Linked DNA regions of Homo sapiens: regions 1 and 2 are each linked to region 3. The links are contacts of gene promoters, found by promoter capture Hi-C in blood cells and fetal thymus (Javierre and others, 2016). All regions are on one chromosome and are shown on one strand. Each heading gives the region's core, a stretch centred on a gene start or on the middle of the fragment in contact. The rest is flanking DNA. Distances are from core to core; before and after follow the strand shown.

The links. The method cuts DNA at HindIII sites, captures the fragments that hold promoters and counts their contacts. A CHiCAGO score of 5 or more calls a contact.
Region 1: a fragment that was not itself captured here is called in contact with the fragment with the promoter of TCEANC in region 3 in 4 of 17 cell types (naive CD8 T cells, total B cells, non-activated CD4 T cells and 1 more); the score reaches 6.9 in naive CD8 T cells.
Region 2: a fragment that was not itself captured here is called in contact with the fragment with the promoter of TCEANC in region 3 in 1 of 17 cell types (non-activated CD4 T cells); the score reaches 5.1 in non-activated CD4 T cells.

The regions. Positions count from the first base shown.
Region 1 is chrX:14,015,817-14,018,525 of GRCh38, reverse strand. All of the region lies in intron 4 of GEMIN8 (gem nuclear organelle associated protein 8), which reads left to right. Among named protein-coding and RNA genes, the nearest start is that of GEMIN8, 13 kb to the left of the region's middle. The HindIII fragment of the contact is 1,695 bases long and covers 537-2,231 here.
Region 2 is chrX:14,043,536-14,046,235 of GRCh38, reverse strand. No RefSeq gene overlaps it. Among named protein-coding and RNA genes, the nearest start is that of GEMIN8, 15 kb to the right of the region's middle. The HindIII fragment of the contact is 2,451 bases long and covers 163-2,613 here.
Region 3 is chrX:13,651,730-13,654,429 of GRCh38, reverse strand. TCEANC (transcription elongation factor A N-terminal and central domain containing) reads right to left here and starts at 1,289. Exons shown (of 5, transcript NM_001297563.2): 1 at 1,242-1,289. It overlaps LOC107985657 (a long non-coding RNA gene), which reads left to right and starts at 991. Exons shown (of 1, transcript NR_171573.1): 1 at 991-1,933. RefSeq lists enhancers at 1,067-1,156, 1,417-1,606 and a silencer at 1,177-1,488. The HindIII fragment of the contact is 12,822 bases long and covers 1-2,700 here.

The DNA of each region.
Region 1 (2,709 bases), core at 135-2,634, 360 kb before region 3:
AAAATGGGATGGAGATCGAGTTTATTACTCTTGTCCTTACCAGAAAGTAGAATAACATGTTTTGCCCACTAGAGGTTGATACTTTTATGATGGAAATTGTAATTATGGATGGAAGCAAATCCCAGTCATCTCAAAGGTGACTTTGAATTATCTGCTGGTTTAAAATAAACTTGAGTTAGTCAATAAAAAGTGGATATGAATAAAATAAAGATAAAACAATGAAATGTGTCCTTGCACCAAAGAAAAAATGTGAACGGTTCAGTTACAGATATTGTTAACAACCATCCCTATTCCTCCCTCTTGCCATTGTTAGGTAGAACTCTAGGTAGGTAAACAAAATCATGAAAATTACCTGCTAAGTCATACTTGCCACTTAATATTATTTTGAGTGAATAAATGAAGTCTTTCAGTGTGAATTAGAAGCCTTAAATCAGAGGTTGGCAAATCTTACCCATAGAGTGCTACACTTGCAGTGATTCTGTGGGACATTTTACAGAATGAGCTAGGCCTTGTGTGCATTATAAACTTGATAAGCTTCATCTCTGTGTTTCATATTATTTCCAAATCTGTCTAGTTACTTTACGGCTCCAAATTGCACTTTCATCATCTGGGTTGAATTGTATCTCCCCAAGAAAGATACAGTGGAATCCTAACCCCCAGTTCCTCAGAATGTGACCTTATTTAAAGACAGGGTCTTTCCAGAGGTAATTGAGGTTAAGTGAGGTCATTACAGGGATCCTAATCCTATGTGACTCAGGTCCTTATAAAAAGGGCAAAATCCGGACACAGAGACAGACACACATGCAGTGAAAACACCATGTGAAGATTGACATTATGTCGCCACAATCCAAGGAACATCCAGAAGGTGGGAGAGGCCTGGAACAGATCCTTCCCTAGCACCTTTAGAGGGTTTATGGCCCTGCCAACACCTCGATTGCAGACTTCTGACCTCCAGAGCCATGAGACAATACATTTCTGTTGTTTTAAACCACCCAGTATATGGTACTTTGTTATGGCAGCCCTAGGAAAGGAGTACAATCACCCTGGGAGAATTTTCTTTGTCCCCAAATGCAATCTGTGACTGGGACATAAAGTAAACCCACAGTTCTTGTCATCTGTCTGAAAAAACTGTATTACTTATTTGTTTTACTGTGATCTAGATAGCAAACCATCATAAAAGGGAATTTTATGAAAACCCTTGCAACTTCCATCTTGAACCTCATTTTCCAGTATTCATATTATTGCTGGCAACAGTGTATGGAGGCAGCTGTGGCAGAACTGCTTGAATCACAGAGGTCCAGCCTCACTCTACCACTCGCTGATTAGAGGTTCTCGTCCTCCTGTAAGCCCCCTGCCTTCACCATTCTTTGCCTCAGTTGCCTCACCTATGAAATAGGATCCTAATTAGTGGGTAGTAATTATGAAGAATCCCTAATGGGTAGTAATTGTGAAGAATCCATGAGATAATATGAGAAAAGTTATAGAATGGTGCTTGGTACCAAGTTGGTGCCCAATAAATGTTATTGTTACAGTTAGTTGCTAGTAACCCATCCTTTAACATGGATTATTAACCATAAATTGGTTTTTCTCTGATACCGTTTGCCTTGATTAGTGCTTGATTGAGATTCTGTACATATATATATATATATATATATATATTTTTTTTTTTTTTTTTTTTTTTGAGACAGATTCTTACTCTGTCACCCAGGCTAGAGTACAGTGGCGCCATCTCAGCTCACTACAACCTATGCCTCCCGGGTTCAAGTGATTCTCCTGCCTCGGCCTCCCAAGTAGCTGGGATTTCAGGCGCCAACCACCACACCCAGCTAATTTTTTTATTAGTAGTAGAGATGGTGTTTCACCATGTTGTCCAGAGTGGTCTTGAACTCCTGACCTCAGGTGATCCACCTGCCTCGGCCTCCCAAAGTGCTGGATTATAGGCATGAGCTACCGCGCCCAGCTAAGATTCTGCATATTTTTAATAAGATGTTCTGTGACTTCAGAAAGGTCATATTTCTGCTCTGGGTGGCACCTTTCAAACTTTTAAACTGATTTAGAATATTAAAGACATGAAAGAATGAAAGTTTTGGTGTCTATCAAATTTAGCAATTAACACAGTTTTTAGTTCTGTTTCAAGGATATTCTTGCTTGATAAAATTTAATGCAGTAAAGTACATGGACTGGGAAAATTAACCCACTTCAATATTACTAATAATGTCCCTAAACAAGCTTTCAATTCTTTGTATTTTTAAAATGTGTAGTTACAGCATGATTCAAAACTACTTTTCTTAGCGTCTGTGTCATGCTCCTACAGCCTTCCCTGAATGCATTAGCTGGTCCCAGGGAGATGTGAGAATTGTCTGGTGAGGGTGAGAACAGACTGTGGTGTCAGACTGGAATCTAAAGACTTCGTCTATATTAGAAGCAGCTGCCAGGGCCCGATCTTGCACCAGTAAGAAAATAATGGGCAATAGATCACTAGCATTATTTTTTTCAGCAGCACTTTTGGTGAGTACAGGATGAACAACTGTTCTTCAAGCGGTAATGAATGATGGAATTCATATGTAAGTAATCTGAGTGCCCATGGCGCTTTCCAATTCATTACCTTCACCAGAAATTTTCATGGAGGGTTAGTTACATACACTGTTGGAAAAAGCTTTAATAAAGAGATAAGGGACCTGGGTAGTATGAATAATTGGTTCAAGTTTT
Region 2 (2,700 bases), core at 139-2,638, 390 kb before region 3:
CCTATGTAACAAATCTGCACATCATGCACGTGTACCCTAGAGCTTTCAAAAATAATAATAAAATAATAAATAAATAAACTGTGCTCATTGCTGTTAAGCACTTTCCCTTAGAACCTGTACTTAAAAGAATCTCTTTGACTTTTATTTGGCTGAATACAAGCTTTTTATTTGAATACTCCAACCCAATACAATTGTCAAGCTAGTGGTGAGCTGGGGGAGGAAAGTGAAAAGTGGGAGAAGGAATTTAACAGTGTGCTGTGTAACTATCTCCTCTGAATTCCCACTTAAAATTGAAAGCATGTACATGTTCAAAGACAACTCCAGCCTCCAACCCCTTTTTCTCTTCTCCCACTGAACCACGGAATATGAACTCAGATTATCAAGAGATATATCAAACAAATTATCTCAGGGATACTGACAAAAGGCCATAAATGCCCCAGAACAGAAAGACACATATTGTGGTAATAATTTGCACTGTATTAATGCTCCAAATGCATTATCCCATTTAAACCTCCCATCAACTCCAAAGTGGGTGCTAATAATATCTGCATTTTCACATGGGATTCAGGCAAGAATACATTCAGTAAATTGCTCAAGATTACACAGTTAGGAAGTAGAGAAATAAGACTTTGAATGCAGTCAGACTCTAGAGCCTCACTCTGTAGATCAGGGTTCCTTTACCTCAGCACTAGTGACTTTTGGAGCCAGATAATTCTTTGCTATGGCTCTGTCCTGTGCATTGTAGGATGTTGAGCAGCATCCCTGGCCTCTACCCAGTAGATGTCAAAAACAACTCCCCAGCAGTAACAATCAAAAACATCTCCAACATTGACAAATGTCTCCTGGTGGGAAAAAATTGCCTCCAGTTGAGAAATACTGCTATAGATGGGGCAGGGGGAAACTTGCTTAGAGATTAAATACATTGCCAATCTATGACAACTGGTAAATAGCCCAATCTGCATTCAAACTGAGAATGACCTGACTCCATATGCCATTATGCTATATTGATCAACTTGGCAAAAATAAAACAAAATGAAACAAGAGCAAAAAAAAACAGATAGGAATAAAATAAAACAAATAAACTATTATTTTGGAATGATTTGCTTCCATTTAAAGAAAAAGAAACAGAAACAGTCCCTAAAGACTGTTTAAGAAAAAGACTGTTAATGATTGTTAAAGAAAGAGTCCCTGAAATACTTAAACTTAACTAAGAGTAAGCAGAGATGTTCTATAAAGTAGTATTTCTCAAAGTTGGCTACATATTAGAACTATCTAGTGAGCTTTAAAAGTACGGATATCTGGGCCTCATCCCCAAGAGATTCTAGTTTAATTGGTCTGGAATGTGACCTGGGTTTGGGATTTTTAAAAGCTGTTCAAGTGTTTCCAATATGAATTCAAAGCTAAGAACCACTGCTGTAAAGGATTCAACTAGTATTTTATTTCTATGGGTCTTATCAATCATGCATATTAAATTGATTACATACATTTAGTTTAATAGAAAACCAATGGATACCTAATAAATTGAGAGCGTACATTACCCTTAACATTCACTGAGCTACTGATCACCAAATTTGTAGATGTTTATAGGATCATATAGCCAGAAGAGAAAGTATTCTCTAGTTCCTAACCTTTGGACCATCTTGTCCCCCATCATCATTTCCAACAAAAAATTAGCCAAAATTTGAAAGGGTACTGTTATTTCATGATTATTCACAGTGCTTTCAAAGTGTGATGGAAGAATATTTTTTCAGTTATTGGGTAAAATGTGATTTTGGAATGGTTTCAAGACTCTAAACACTTTATTTTGGCTTATTCCAATATGTGTGATTAAGTAATTTTTCTAAACATTAACCTTGTCACTACTACCATGAATAATTCAGAATTCAATAGATACATTCATTTCTAATATGTAATATGTTCAGATAACAATAAGACACCTTAGGTTTTCATTACTGTAGCCGTCAAACTACGGAAGTGATAACATTTGCTTAAATGGCTTTCTATAACAATGACCAGCAAATCTAGCCTAATGTAGACAACACTGTTATTCACTCCAAATATACTCCCTTTCCTTCCATAGACAGTCTATGCCTGCACATGGCAAGCAATAAAACAGTATGAACATTCAGATAATTTATCCAGTGTTGATGATCATTTCTAATTACACTGTACAATAATTTGTCCAGTGATTAGCATTGATTATTACAAAATGGTCACTTCTCAAACATTAATCTAAGCTGACAGGCTCAGAACACAATACCCCAAAATACAGTAGCTTGGCAATTGAGAAAATGGCAGAAGCAGGAAGGTCTCTCTCATCTTCTCCCACCATTCTCCCCTGAAACAGGCCATAGAATCTAGGAAGGTCAGTCTCTGACCCTCTCCTTCCTTTCTCCCCTGAAGACCCTCATATGACAGGTGTCCTGCCCTATACCTAGAGGAAAGAAATGTTACACAGAGAGGCCAAAAAGAATCTGAACAAACAGGCCTTGCTAAGTTCCCCCAAATTTACTACCACTATGTCATATTATTTTGTCCTCCAATCACACTTCTGCATGACTGTCCACAAAAATATGGTTTTCCCTTAGTCTCTGGGTTTTCATTTCTGAAGCTTCCTGTGTTATGTAAAATTTATATTGAGTAAACTTGCTATGCTTTTCTCTTTTTAATCTGTCATTTGTTATTGGGGTTTCAGCCATG
Region 3 (2,700 bases), core at 40-2,539:
ACTCTGCTGCTATTGTAGCAGCAACAGCAGATACAGAAAATAACATAAATGGATAGGCATGATCTTGCTCTGGTAACACTTGTTTACAAAAACAGGCAGGCTGGATTTGGCTGCAGGCCATAGTTTGTTGACCCTTTTCTAGAGCAGGGCTGTGCAACATATATATAACATGTAAACCACAAATATGATTTAAAATTTTCCAGTAGTCATGTTAAAAAATAAAAATTGGTGAAATTAATTATACATTTTATTTAACCCAGTGTATCCAGAATAGTCATTTCAACATGTGATTAATATAAACAAATTGAGATATTTTACATTCTTTTTCATGCTAATTCTCGAAAATTCACTGTGTCTTACACTTACAGCACATCTCAATTCGGACTAGCCACATTTCAAGTGATCAAGCCTTATGTAACTAATGGCTATCATTATTGGGACGCCACGGTTCTAGAACTGATGCTAATATGGATAATGCTTGCTTAGGTGCATACCTATACCAAAAAGTGTATACAGTGCCAGGAAAAGTAGGCACGAAATATGGTATTGGATCCATATAAAAACTTATAAAGATTAGCTAATATTATAGTAAGCAAGGTGCACACATCTGCACAAAAATGGCCTAAACCCTGAGAAGAACGAGAGGAAAGGTCTGGAAACAATGTTTCCAGAAGTTTGTAACAAGTCAAAAATAACCTAGATCTGTTCAGATCTTTAGATCTCTTTAAAGCCTAAAGAGAAACTGTAACTTTCTAGCCCTAACCCACTTAACAGCTCCCCAGCTTCACAGGGAGCCCCGCCCTCTATGGAGAGAAACGATGCCAAATGTTGGCAGCGGTGTAGCGGTTACTGAACAGCCACTCAGCACTGCACTAGGACCATTTCCCTTAATGGTGACCCCTAGTAAAGGTGCAGCGAGAGGAAGGGACCAGCCCAACTGCCCGGTCTAGCCCGGGTTCGAGTTCCGGTGGGTGGGGTCGAGCAACATGCAAAGCCTGCCGCTAATCATCTTGGGATGACGGCCCGGCACCCAGCACACAAACAGCGACAGTCCCGAGGGTTCAGCCCACTCTGGCGACCTCGACAGTCGGAGAGGAAGGGGCGGGGGTGCGAGCACCTTCGGATCTACGCCGCCCAGGGCGCACCGGAAAGCTGCCGCGAGCCGGGGTGGGCTTCCGCTGGGAATAAGGGCTCGCCTTTTTGCGGGACACAGGCCCTGGCAAACCTGAAGCATGACTCACCGAAAAGCGCAGGCGCAGTTCCGGAGCCTTCAGCCGCCCAGTGCCCACGGAGAACTTCCGATCACCGGGACTGGGACAACGTCAAGGCTCAGCCAATCCAAGCCCACAGGCCGGCGCACGTGGTCCTGGGACCCAGTGCATGCGCGCTAGGGAAATGGCTGCCGTGGGACTGCGCTCGCGCGGCTTCCTAGAGGAGGAGCCATGGCCCCGCCCCGGGCCCGAGAGAAAGAAACTGCACTTTCGTTTTTTAGCAGCAAAGTTTGTTGATGTACTTTACAACTTATCTTTTCTGCTTCTACTCAGGACAGTCAAGACAGTGCTCAGCTAGATGTTCACATAACTGTAGACATAAATGTGAATCTATTTAACGCAGTAATTAATTCAAAAAGTGTTTTTAGCATCCTAGCATGCATCAGTTGATATGAAAGTAGTAAATGTTAATTGAGTGGTCTTGTGCATCCTGGACTTCTCATCTGTGCATATTCTCATTCTTTGCCTGCAAAGGGCCAGTAAAAGCACAGTGATGGTTGAACGAATGTGACAGCCTCCTTTGCTGATGCCTTACCCCAAGGTAATTTGGGGAAAGGTTCAGGGAAACAGAGTATCCAATCCAATACTCTGGACTGGGTGCTGGCAGGAAGGAGGGCGATTGTATGATTAAGTATCATAATAAATCTTACCTAAAAGGAGGGGAGACAAGACCAGTGACTCATTAACTGGGATAGGGGATGTTTGGTCATTTTTGTGGTTTGGACAATGTTTACGTTTTTTCAGCATTCCCACGTGATTACGAAGGAGTCTTGTTTTTGTCTTGATCCATCTGGTCAAAGAGTGGCCACGTCTGATGGTGTTCTGTGAAGTATTTATGTTCCACGCAGCACCAAGGCCCAGCTGTGACTGCCGGGGCAGCTCAGAGCTGTCAGGGGTTACTTTTTTCTTGCTGTCTATTATAGGGCTAAAATGTTTAAGGATTATATAATACCTTTTTAAAGAAAAAATTATTTGGCTGGGCGTGGTGGCTCATGCCTGTAATCCCAGCACTTTGGGAGGTCGAGGCAGGCGGATCATGAGGTCAGGAGATCGAGACCATCCTGGCTAACACGGTGAAACCCCGTCTCTACTAAAAATACAAAAAATTAGCCAGGCGTGGTGGCACGTGCTTGTAATCCCAGCTACTTGGGAGGCTGAGGCAGGAGAATCGCTTGAACCCGGGAGGCGGAGGTTGCAGTGAGCTGAGATCGAGCCATTGCACTCCAGCCTAGCGACAGAGCAAGACTTGGTCTCAAAAAAAAAAAATTATTTAATGACACTTGTCACTTGTTAAAGCATGGTAAGGAAGACTTTATTCAGGACCATTGAGATAGACATAGGTACCACTGCAACAGGGTCTTGCAGTGGGGAAGAGAGATTGGGCTCAACTTCAATTGTAGCATGGAAAAGTGAGAATTTATAGCCAAGG